Linked DNA regions of Homo sapiens: region 2 is linked to region 1. Evidence: promoter capture Hi-C in human tissues and cell types (Jung and others, 2019). All regions are on one chromosome and are shown on one strand. Each heading gives the region's core, a stretch centred on a gene start or on the middle of the fragment in contact. The rest is flanking DNA. Distances are from core to core; before and after follow the strand shown. Region 1 holds the start of ROBO3 (roundabout guidance receptor 3). Region 2 overlaps PKNOX2 (PBX/knotted 1 homeobox 2).

Evidence for each region. Contacts are between HindIII fragments. The study calls those that stand out against the background at their distance.
Region 2: a contact is called between a fragment that was not itself captured here and the fragment with the promoter of ROBO3 in region 1, in 1 of the 25 tissues and cell types used here (IMR-90 fibroblasts).

Annotation. Positions count from the first base shown.
Region 1 is chr11:124,861,844-124,867,888 of GRCh38, reverse strand. It overlaps ROBO3 (roundabout guidance receptor 3), which reads right to left and starts at 2,457. Exons shown (of 28, transcript NM_022370.4): 1 at 2,152-2,457. The coding sequence starts at 2,311. RefSeq lists enhancers at 1,465-2,141, 4,481-4,982. The HindIII fragment of the contact is 19,013 bases long and covers 1-6,045 here.
Region 2 is chr11:125,394,099-125,400,227 of GRCh38, reverse strand. It overlaps PKNOX2 (PBX/knotted 1 homeobox 2), which reads right to left. Exons shown (of 13, transcript NM_001382323.2): 7 at 2,166-2,354. Among named protein-coding and RNA genes, the nearest start is that of FEZ1, 99 kb to the left of the region's middle. The HindIII fragment of the contact is 3,747 bases long and covers 1,484-5,230 here.

The sequences.
Region 1 (6,045 bases), core at 1,208-3,707:
CGTGGCGGCCAGTAGGTGCCACTGCAGCCTTTAATAACCTGCTGTAAAATAACCAGGGACCACTTCAAGCATCTGTTCTGCCCCCTGCCCCCTCCCCCTGTTCCCCCCTTCCTACCCTGTTCCAAAATCTGCAGGAACCTCCCGCTTCCAGCCCGCCTGTGAGATTGGGTTTCATTTCCTGCCCCCCCTCTTAGAAGTTCTGTTGTAGACAAAGCTGGACAGGCTGACCCGTGCTGGCGCTGTTCTGAGTTTATTTTAATTGCCTGGAGTCAAGAAGATCGATTTCTGTCCCACTTGGGAGAGTAATTTTCTCCATCTCCTCCCTTCCAAATGGAAATCTCTGCTTTTCACCCTTCTCTTCTCCTCCATCTCCTCCCATTCCCAATTTTGGAACACCCCGTGGTGAGCAACACTGGAGTGATTGAGAGCAAGTGTTGCTGTTGAACCAACCAGGGCTGGAATCTCAGACTTTGACGCTTCCTAGCTGTAAGAACTTGGGCAAATTATTTAACTTCTCTCAGTCTCAGTTTCTTTCTTTGTGATGTGAGAGCAGTGATAGGGTTGCTCTAAGACCATAATGTATGTAAAGCCCTTGGGGGATAAACGTCACTACTCTGCCATTATTTAAGGGCTTGTGTTCCCAGCATATGCACCTTATCTTGGCTCCTACAGTCTCTACCTGAATCAAATTCTACCAGGCCCCAATATTCTTTTTTCCCCTTGGTATAGCCCTCAGGTGTAATGGAAATGGACTGATCTGTTATCGCTAGGTTTTGCTTCATGCTGCTTTTGTGACGATTAGGGCACCATTCACTCTATAAAGCGTTTTCTCGGCGGCAAAATGTGTCTGTCAACACCTTCCTTGCATACCTCACTAAGTTTCGAGCTTAGATGAGACAAAGTATGGTGAAAACACTCTGTAAACGCGCTAGGTGAGCAGAAGCGGGACTCTGCGGGGTGCCAGCGAGAAGGGATCTGTGCTTAACCTCCTGGAAATCTAGGAGGGTCAAGAGGTTGGAGAATCGGGCTCCTCCCCCATCGTCTTTCTCCCCAATCCTTCTATACGGACCACACCCTTCTGGTCGGCCTTTTCCCCCTAATTCCTGTAGACACAGCTGCAGGCGCCCTTTCCCTGGAATTTCCCCCTCTACCCTTCCCGGTCTCAGGAGATGCTTCGACTGCAGCCTAATGAATAGCTAATGGCCATGCTAATGAGGCTCTGGGGCTCCTCCCTCAGCACCTGATGTGCCCCACACATGAACACACACATATTGCCAGGGTCTCCTTTCTCTCCACCTTCGAGTCCCCAGCACAGTGCTCGTCACTAGACTCGAGTGGGTCGAGGCAGAGGGATGGGGACCGCGTGCACCTGGAGGGAACCACACGCGAAAGCGCCCGGTAAAGCGGGGGTTCCCGATGCGGCAGGCAGGGGGCGCGCTCCGGCCTCTCCGCAGGCTGGCGGCGGCCGGCTCCCGCAGCTTCCCCGCGGCGCTAGGGGAGAGCGCGCTGTCCCAGTCATTTATTAATCACCGTAATTAGCGGTAACGACCTCGCCGCCAGCTCCGCCCGCCCGCCACAGCTCTGCCGGGGTGGGCCGGCTGAGAGTCCCGCCGCTGAAAGACAAACTTCTAAGTTTCCTTAAAATGATCGCCGCCCCTATCCCCTCCGTAGCAAACACATCCAGCATTTTGGCTTCCTCTGGTCCTAAGTGAGTTCTTGGGAAACTTCGGGGTTCCGAAGACCAGCTGCCTGGGTGGGTCACCGAGTGACCTGGCTTGGCCGAGGCCGGCGGGAGACTGTGCCCCCTCCTCTGCCCTCCCTGCGCTGGGCCCGGGCCTTTCTTAGCTCGGACTTCCCTGCCCGTTACCAGCAACGGTTCTTCTCACCTGGGGTGGGCGTTGTAGGGGAAGGGAAGGAGGTGTAAAAAGACTCAGTAGCCATCTTCTCCCAAGCCCTCGACCTCCCGCGGGTACCCCCACTCATGTGCTCGAAGCTCCAAATTATCCCTTAGACCCCACGACCCAGGGAGGCGCTGGGAGGCGCCACTCAATCCCGGACCTCGGGACAGGAGCGCTTCTCCTTCCCTTCCACGCCGCCCTCTCACCTCATCCCCATCCCAGGATCCCATATCCCCAAGAGGCAGGGTCTCACCGTTGAGAGAGGGATCGCCGGGAGGCAGCAGGGTGTGGTTGAGCGCCGCCAGCGAGGAGTTGAAGCCCAAGAGCAGCTCGCTGGAGTTGGAGATGTCCCCGGCCAGAGAGTCCGCGAACAAGTTCATCTGCAGCAGCGTTTTCAGCAGGTAGCGCAGCATGGCTCGACCCAGCTGGGATCGGGACTGGGGGCTGGGGGCCCAGCCCCTGGGTCTGAGACCCGTGGGCTGGGAGCCGTAAGCCCCTCCACAGCCTCTGCGCGCTGCGGCAGCCACGGTGCCGCTCTCCTGCCGGTGCGCCTGGGTACGGTCGGTGCCTCTTCGTGCCCTCCTCCTTCCCTCGTCCTTCTCTCCACCCCCTAGTGCCGGAGTCCCCTGGGAGCTGGGCAGGCGGAAAGCAGGTGCCACGCCGATCACGGCGTAATTAAGGGATTAATCCGCCTCCCTCCACCCTCCCACCCTTACCTCTACAGTCACTATCCGAGCAGGAGACACGAGTAGCGTAGCGCGCGAGTTGGAGTCCCCGCCCCGCACCCCAAGCCCAGCGTTCCGTTCTGGACGCGGCGAGAGATTTTCCCTGTCTCAAAGCACCCAAGATGAGGGACGAGGCTCTGTCGGACTCTGCCCTTCTGCCCAACTTTAGAACAGGAATCTGTCCTCTCTTTTCCCGAACCTTTTGGAAACTGAGGCAAAGCGCAAGCAATGCTCCTTGCTGCCAAAGTTCTGGTTTCCATTCCCTCCCAAGTCTAGGGGTTTGGCGACGGAAGGGCAGGAGACTGGGGTGGTTTGCAGCAAGAGTTGGGAGTAGGCAGAGAATTCCAAGACAGGTCCACCTCTCTGCCCTCTGGTCCTTTGGTCTGCAGCCAGGAGGCCAGAGGATGGAGCGGCGCGCCCTGACCCGGGAGTCCTGCTCCAAACGCCCTAATCTAGGAGTTCCTGTAGGAGACTGAAAGCCAGGGAAACCCAGGCAACTGTCATTTATTTGAATCCTTTTACATTACCCTGCTTTGACATTTTTTATTAAATTGTTTTACGTTTTTGAGGAGACTGAAATGGAACCAAGGATTCTAGGACAAAAACAAAGATAATATTATTTTTGTAAAGGCATGTGGGATTGCTGCAAAATTAGTGCAAATCTGTTCAAATCGGATAGCAGTCGTCCTTCCTGGGGGGGGCGAAAAGAAAACCATGGGCCCCTACTCCCACCTCCCACTTCCAGTCGCGGTCTGCTTCTGACTTTTCTGGAGTTCTTTCTACCTGAAGACCCACCTCGACAAACTCACTTTCCTAGACAGGAGATGGCTTTGGGGTATCAGGGAAAGAGAGAGGCCGGGGCATTCCTAACCTGAGGTAAGGCCCTGCTGATTGAAGAGTCAGTGCCAGAGTTCTGGCTCAGCCGTCAGGTTCTGGGATGAGACAACTTTCATGGGGCGACTGCTTCTGACCCCAAAGGGGTCGAGATCAGAGGGGTGGGTGCTATACAGTCGCAGACTCTGGAGTAAGCAGAATCAAGAATTGAAATATTTCAGGCAGAGCTTGTTCAAGGGAACCCGAGACATTGTCAAGGGGTGGGGGGCTTGTTCCAAGCCTCCTTCCTCAGTCCAGGCGCCTGGCTGTGAGCCTCCAACTATGGGTGTTTAGGTGCCTTCCAACCCTAGCAGTTCTGGGCGGGACGTAGAAAGGCTGGAAGCACTAGGTGTGGGGGAGGGGGTAGGTGGGAGTGGGGGTGGGGCCGGATGGACCCCCCACCCCACCGCCACGCAGCGCCCTGGGAGCTGTCCTTTTCAGCACCTCATCTGCAGGTGCCTGACTAGGGCCCTGGAGCCCCCAGGGAAGACATAAATCCGAGCAGACCCTGAGGCTGAGGACTGGGGTAGGTGGGAGACGGGCTAGAGACACATCCTTTCAAAAGCAAGAAGATAATAAGAGATTTGACGCCCCTCCCTTCCTCGCTCCAGGGTGGTATTCAGATAAGAGAGAAAGTAAGGGATGTATTTCCCACCCGAAATCTATCCTTCAGGAATGACCAACACAGAAGTGGGTTCTAATTCTACGTTTGCCAAGTACAAGACGTCACCGCTTTGGATCTCAGTTTTCCCATCTGTTAAGGAGGAATTGGAGTGCTTGATCTACTCTGACCTGTGAGATTCGAGGCTCCGGGGCCCTTTGCTCCGCCCCCTGCTGACCGCGGTCACCTGGGTTCCATCACAGCAGAGGCTGAATCGGGATAGAAACCCCACGTCCTGGTACCAGGCCCTACTCTGGGGCGGAGGGGGCCAGAAACCCTCCCACCATGCGGCTCCTGCCCGGTCCTAATGCCCTGATTTGCTCCCGGCTGGCCTCTCCGCAAACACAGGGCCTGCCAGCGTCTAGGGGCTTGTCACCCTGTTAGCGGATTTGTTCCCGGAGACGGCGCAGTTAATTGGCCCTTTATGTGGGGATCAGGGCGTATTTGCTCAGGGTTCCCTGAGCGGAGGCGCGGCTCAACCCGTGAGCAAGGCTGCTTCACAGTCCCTGTCACGTGGGTTTGGAGGCTGGACAAATAGCCGGGCCACTCTACTTTCCAGGAATCTGCTGTCTCTCCTACACTTCACCTCGTCTGGGCTCTCTCTAATTTTCACTCTCCACTTTTTCTTGTTTCTCTCTGCTCTTTCCTTCTTTGTACTTCTCTTTATCTTGATGATACTCTCCTTTTAAACCAAACTCAGATCTAAGCCAAGAGGGCTGAGTTCTCCCAACTGGGGATATCAGAGAATAAATACCTCCCAACCATAACCTAAGTTCCCTCCCTTTTCCTTCCCATTCTCTAGTGTCCTTACGGCCCTGGGCTAGGCAGAGTGGAGCAGAGAGTGGGCAGAGAAGGCCCAGCAGAAGTCACACCTCCCAGCTCTTCTGCAGCCCTCTCCCCACCTTCTCTTCTTTACTGAGGGTCAGACAGGCAGCCTAGAAACTGGCCCTGCCCCTGTCCACATCCAGCTTCTCTCCTGGCTACCCCCATAGGCAGTTCTGAAAGGGGTTTGCCTCCTACTAGTCTCCTCACTGCCTGCTCTGCTCTCTGAAAATTACCAAGACAACTCTTTGTCCTTTTTCTGGAGTGGGTATGCAACTCTTTGCAACTATGTCCATTTCCTAATTTGTCAACTGTAAGTGCCTGTACAGCACCTAAAACACTGAGTAGATGCCCTGCAATTGGAGGAGCCTCAGCCGGGGTGCATTCATTCTGTTGACTTATAAATTTCCACCTTGGGCTGGAGAAAGAGTCAGAGTTGGGTTTAGAGACCCTCTCTTCTACCACCTCAGGAAACTACTTCTTTCCCAGAGTTTTACCAACAATATGTACAGTCCAGACTTTAGAAAGGGTAAGAAAAAGAAACAGAGGTTTTGAAGGAGATTTGGCAGAAAGAAGAGAGAGTAGCAGGAAGCAGGGAGGTTGGGGCGAGTTGAATTTGTAGAGTTAGGAGCTAAGTTTGTTCTGATAAGGTTACAGCATCTGATGGGAAGAAGTGTGTGTGTGTGTGTGTGTTTGCGTGTGTGTGCATGTGTGGGTTCACAGGTAGAGCCCTAGAAAAGAGCCCTGGGCCAGGAGTTGATGAGGTAATATAGAAGAGGAATATTTCTTTCCTATGGTGGTATTTTGGGTGGGTGGATTTGCAGAGGAACATGGGAAATGGGAAGGGCAAGTGATTATGAGTAAGGCAGGAACCCTACACAAGAGTGGTGTTTTGGGAATCATGAGCCTCTAAAGGAACTCTCCATCCCACCCCCCACTGGTGTGTGAGTGTGTGTGTGTGTGTTCACGTGCTAGGGGAGAGAACAGCTACCCCAGGCTAACTTTCTTGGCCTAGTGCCAGCATATCGGCCAGAGAATGTGGCTGGGAATTTTCAGTGGCCAAGCT
Region 2 (6,129 bases), core at 2,108-4,607, 530 kb before region 1:
GAATACCTCACTAGTGTCTTTTCTCTTTCTCAGTGCCTCGCTTGCATCACCCCCTCCCCCACACCCACCACGCAATTGTCTGATTCCTCTTTCCCAGCTGATCAATGGCCTTTCTGCCGTGGGTACCCCAGGGCCAGCCTCACTTCCAGGCAGAGATCTGATGCTTCCAGTGATAGGAATCAAAATTCTTCTGTCTTTCCTCAAAGCTCAGAAGGCTGAGTGCCGGGATTCTCCAGGGGGACTGATTTTTGCAGGTGGCAGCATCTCTGAGAACTTAACCATCCAGAGTCCGCGTTATCCTTTTCTGCAAACCCCACTTCTCCAGTGACCGACTGGTTTCTGCAGACCAACTTGTCAGTCTCAGACCTCCAACCCTGAGGGGGCTGAGGTGGCTGCTAAGCCCTCTGCCCCTCCTTCCTTCCCCCACTACCCTGGTGCACCCCCAGCTCCAGAGCTCGAGGTGGAGTTGGAGGGCCCAGGAGGGGAAATCCAGTGCCTCTCCAAGGACCTGATTATTTCCAAAGACTTGTGCTAATTTTCTGATATGATCCTCACATCTCTGTGAGGCACTAAATCCTCATTACTTTTCCTGACCGATGCATTCTAATTAGATCAACACTTAAAAAAAATTCACAATAGCCACAGGATGGCTTTCCATCTCATTAACTCCTCACTTATTATTTTCATGAAAATTACTGATAAAAATGTGCATCTCCATTTGGCGAGGCCTCACAGCCTCCTCAGCTCCTATCTTGCATCTCTCCCATCACCGGGACTGCGCAGCGTCACCATGGTAACCCACAATAATAGAAACTAATAAATTACAAACGAGATGCTCGTTGAGCAATTATTGTCCTCTTTTATGCAAGTTTCTTGCTAATTTTGATCATAAGGGAAAGTACAATAAGACTCTGAAGGAATGAGTCTATTTCAAGAGAATATTAGCAGGCAGAAGCCCGGGCGGGTGTTTTTAGATCTGTAATAAAGTGACTTGGTGATTTCAAGCGAGAGGAAGAGGAAGTAAACTTCTTGCCCTATGTCCTGGGCAGTACTCACTACGGAGTCTCACAAAGAGCCCACTGGGGTGGGTTGGATGTGATACCGAGTGTATCTTTTGTGCTTGTTGTCAAAATGTGCAAAGCAAGGCTGGCCTTCTAGAAGTCAGCCTGTCCCCTCCCCTGACTCCACCAATCTGGGGAGATAGAGTACATGGGTGGTTCCTTAGGGGTCTAGGGACAAAAACGGCACAGCCTTTCTTTGGCACTACTTCCAGCACCTCTCGGCACTCACTCCTAGAAAGTTTACCTGCATCCCCATGCCTGATTGTTTAATGAGAAGAGGCTACAGAGGACTCCTTGGGGACCCTCCAGGTGTCTTCCAGGACTCAGGAGCTCAGTGGAAGGGGAACAAAGTCTCAAGCCTGTGGCTTATGCAGATGTCTGTGAGTTGGGCGGGAAGGTATTGCCAGGCAGCTTTCTCGGTTTGTAGGTTTGGGGAAAATATCCTGCCCTGGAGGGGAAACCCCATCTTGCCCAAAGCGTGTAGTCAGCATTTCTGCATTTCCCAGGTCTCAGGAAGGAGGTGGCAGGGGAACCTGGGAACAGGGTGGTTTGAGGTGACCTTGACCATGGCCCTGAACCTTAGGGGGACAGAGATGCCAGAGTAGCGTGAGTGCCTGGAGAATGATTAGGGAGCAGCAGGCCCATGGGAAGCTGGCTTCACCCATTAGGTGGGCAGGATTCAGGGAATGACTGCTTTCCCCAAATGCCCTTTCCCAGAAATGCAGATGGCTCAGCAAGCCGCAGCCTCTTAAGAAGCCTGTCCCAGCTCATCCTCCAGGAGAGCTTTCCTTCTCCTTAGCTCTGGTGCTCATTCTGGGGGATACCTTGGGCCAGGAAGCCAGGAATGATTTTGGACATTGTCCCTCTCCGATCTGGTCATTTTCAAGGGAATACTAATGCCCTGGCAGGGCAGACTGTGTGTAAAAAAGGGATGGGATGGCCTAATGGATATGAAGAAGAGTGCATCAGAGGAGGGCCCTCATGGCAAAGGAACCCAGTGGGTCTAACCCAGTGAAGGTCACCAGGGGACCTTCCTCCACGCGTGGCTCCAGAGCTGGGCTTAGGAGCCTGGCTTAAGAGATGGGACCCAGCTCTGGGTGTTACCTGTGAGTGAAGGTTGATGGAGGGCTGGTTGGGGGAGTAGGGCCCCCCTAGATCATTCCTGAGCAGGTTGTCGCTGTGCATCTTGGTTTTGAGGCAGGTGATGTAACGGTTACAAAAGTCCTTGCAGAGTTCATTGACTTTCTCCAGCTCCAGCAGGTGGATTCTCAGGACCTGGATTGCCTTCACCATCTGTGGAGAGGGAGGAGAGGTGAGCCCAGGTGTTTGCATCCCATTTCCCTCACTGCCTGGACCCCCAGCCCCCACCACCCCAGGGGAGGGGAGCCCACCCCCTGCCGTAGCTCATGCTTCCTACACTTGATCTTGGCCAAAAGGCCCAGAAGTGGTAGGCGGTGCCTTCTCATCCCCATGACTTCAGTTCTAATGATGGCTCTCTGCTAATTATTCCTTTGCTCTGAGCCCTCTGTTATCACAGCTGTTCTTGAGGCAGTTGTGGTATTCTGAGAACAGCATTGGCCTTAGCGATGGGAGGCCAGGTCCAAGCCCCCGGCCTGTCATTTACTATCTGTGTGAGCTTGGGCAAGTTGCTCAAGCTCTCTGTGCCTTAGTGGCTAACAAATGGGGATAATTAGATTCTCCCTGACAACTTTACAGGTTTGTTGTGAGTATTGTATGAGGGCGTATACATGGTAGCACATTGTGAGGTGTGAAGGACCAGGCAAGCCTGAGGAAGATGGAGATCAGAATTTCTTATAAGTGCCTCTAGAGCTCAGGGACTGTCTATTCTTAAACAAGCATTCTGAGTGCCTCATGGGATACCGGTTACCTTGTGGACGCTCTGTGGATACTTGCTGATGGACTGAATAATCCAGCATGACTTAGCTGGGCACCAGCTACCTCACTGTCTGCTGTGGCCTTTTCCATGCCCTTTGGATTGCTGTACGGGAGCCTGCTGCCTCTTCAAATGGACATTCCTAACCTTTTCGTGGCAAGAAGCTATTTTGCAATTGAAGCTTTGCTCTTTACTGCTGTTATTATCATAAAAAGAAAATACTATGGAAGGTATGGAAAGCAGGGTGAAAAAAACCTGTCTTCGATCCAATCGCCTTAAAGAATGATTTTTTCCTACACCCATATATTTTAACATAGTTTCAATAACCTTGTGCATGCAATTTTGTTTTCTGTTTTTTCCCTCTAGTTTAGCAAATCTATTTTTCTAAGTGCCAGAATTGTTTTCTCTATCCTCTCTTCTAGACTATGAGCTTTGAGAAGGCAGGGATGATGTCTAATTTGCTCACCATGTTATCTTCAGCACGAACACATATGGATATGGAGTAAACATTTGCTGAATGGGTGAAAGTTATTGAGTAAACATATTTTTAAATGTTGCATATTATTTCATGTGTGTGCCATACTTAACCAGTCTCCTATTGTTAGGTATTTAGATTACTTCCAATTTTTCAATTTTATAAAAAATGTTACAGTGAATATTTTCTAAGCTTATAGCTTTTTTTTTTTTTTTTTAAAAGTTTCTGCATTATTCTTTAGGATGAATTCCCAGAAGTGACAGGAAAAAAAGCTATGAACGTTCTTGTGGATTATGATAAATATTGCCAAATTGCTTTTCAACAGGGGGTTGTTCAAATGGTGCTAGAATAATTAGACATCCACATGCAAAAAAACTGAATCTTGATTTAAACCTCATACCTTAGATGAGATTAACTCAAAATGGATCAAAGACATAAATGTAAGACAGAAAACTATAAACCTCTTAAAAAAAAACAGGAAAAAATCTTCAGGATCTAGGGTGAGGCAAAGAGATCTTAGAGTTGACACCAAAAGCATGATCCAGGCTGGGCACAGTGGCTCACGCCTGTAATCCCAGCACTTTGGGACATCGAGGCAGGAGGATCACTTGAGGTCAGGAGTTTGAGACCAGCCTGGCCAACATGGTGAAACCCCATATCTACTAAAATTACAAAAATTAGCCAGTGGTGGTTGTGCATGCCTGAAGTCCCAGCTACTTGGGAGGCTGAGGCAGGAGAATCGCTTGAACCCAGGAGGTGGACGTTACAGTGAGCCGAGATGGAGCCACTGCACTCCAGCTTGGGCGACAGAGCGCAACTCCATCTAAAAAAAAAAAAAAAAAAAGATGATCCAGTGAGGAACTGGACGCTGTCAAAATTAAAAATGTTTACTCTTCAAAAGACCCTGTGAAGAAGAGGAAAAGACTACATACTGGAGGAGAATATTTGCAAACCAAGTACCTGACAAAGGACTTGTATCTAGGATATATAAAGAACTCTCAAAACAAAACAGTAAAATAACAAGCAACCCAATTAGAACATGGTCATAAGACATGATTAGACATTTCACTGAAGAGGATATACAGATGGCAAATAAGCACAAGAGAAGATATTCAATGTCATTAGTCACTAGGGAAATGCAAATTAAAACCACAATGAGATATCACTACACACCTATTGGTATGGTTAAAATAAAAGAAATAAATATGACAACACCAAATGCTGGTGAGGAACTGGAGACTAGAACACTCAGACATTGCTGTTAAGAGTGTAAAATGGTACAGCCACTCTGGAAAACAGTATGACAATTTCTTACAAAACTAAATATGTGCGTACCATATGACCCAGCAATTGTACTCTTGGGCATTTATCCCAGAGAAATAAAAACATATGTTCTTACAAAAACCTGTATACAAATTGTTCAAAGCAGCTTTACTTCTAATAGTCAAAAATCGGAAACAACCCAAATGTACTTCAATGGGTGAATGGATAAAGAAACTGTAATTCATCCATATCATGGAATATAACTCAGCAATAAAAAAGAATGAGCTATTGATATGCCCAACAATGTGGATAGATTGCAAGGGAATTTTCCTGAGAGACAAAAGCCAGTCTCAAAGGATTATATACTATATGATGCCATTTACAAAACGTTTTTGAAATGACAAAATTATAGAGATGGAAGACAGAAAGACAGATTAGTGGTTGACAGCGGTAGAGTGGAGGAGGGAGGGAGGAACTGTTCTGTACTTTGCTATAACAATGTTTATGTGGATCTAAGTATATGATAAAATTGCACAGAACTAATTACATGTACACACACACACACACACACACACGAGGGCACGTAAAACTGGTGAAATCTGAATACAGTTGGTGGATTGTTCCTGGCTGTGAAATTGTGCTATGGTTATACAAGATGTGAATCAGGAGCTCTCTGTATGAGTTCTTATAACTGCATGTGAATCTACATTTATATCAAAATTAAATGTAACCGCTAGGAGCGGGTGATGCTTATTGCTTTTCCAGATCCATTTATGTTGACGCAAGCAATATATGGGATCTCTTTTTAGTCCCACCCTCCTAGCTTTTGGCTAGCTCCTGGATGCCTAGAGGAGAGTTTGGACAATATAAAAAGGGATGGAAACAAGGAAGGAAATCTCTCCCAGAGAATTGTGACTGTGAGGTGTGTGTAGAGAAGTGTGGCTTGAAGCCAGCATTACACCCTTCTCTGAGCCTCATTGGCATTTCAAGTGGGGAGCCCACATTCCCTGGGCTGGGCTTGTGGCTTGTCTGATGAGCAGGGATTGTGCTCAACTAATTAAGGGTTTTTGGAGTACTAAATTAGACCAAGTGTCACTCAAAGACAGAAAGCAGCGATTGTGTGTCGTCATGCAGGGCTCAGTCACAAGGTCTCCTCCTAAGAAGTACCACCTCTGTGGGGCTGAGACTGAGGGAGACTGAGCCATCCTAAGCAAAGAGGAAAATTGTGACTTTAGAATGGATCATTTGGACCCCAAAGTGGAGTTAAGTACTTAATAAAGATTTGTTCTTGCCTAATGTTCTACTTGACTTTGGCCACGAACATCTTGGTCTATGTCTCTCAGTGTAATGAGCACAGGATAAGGTACTTAACACATATGCGTTGCTGGATTGTTAATAATACCCAAACGTTTCTTATTCAGACTGTGTCTCAGGCA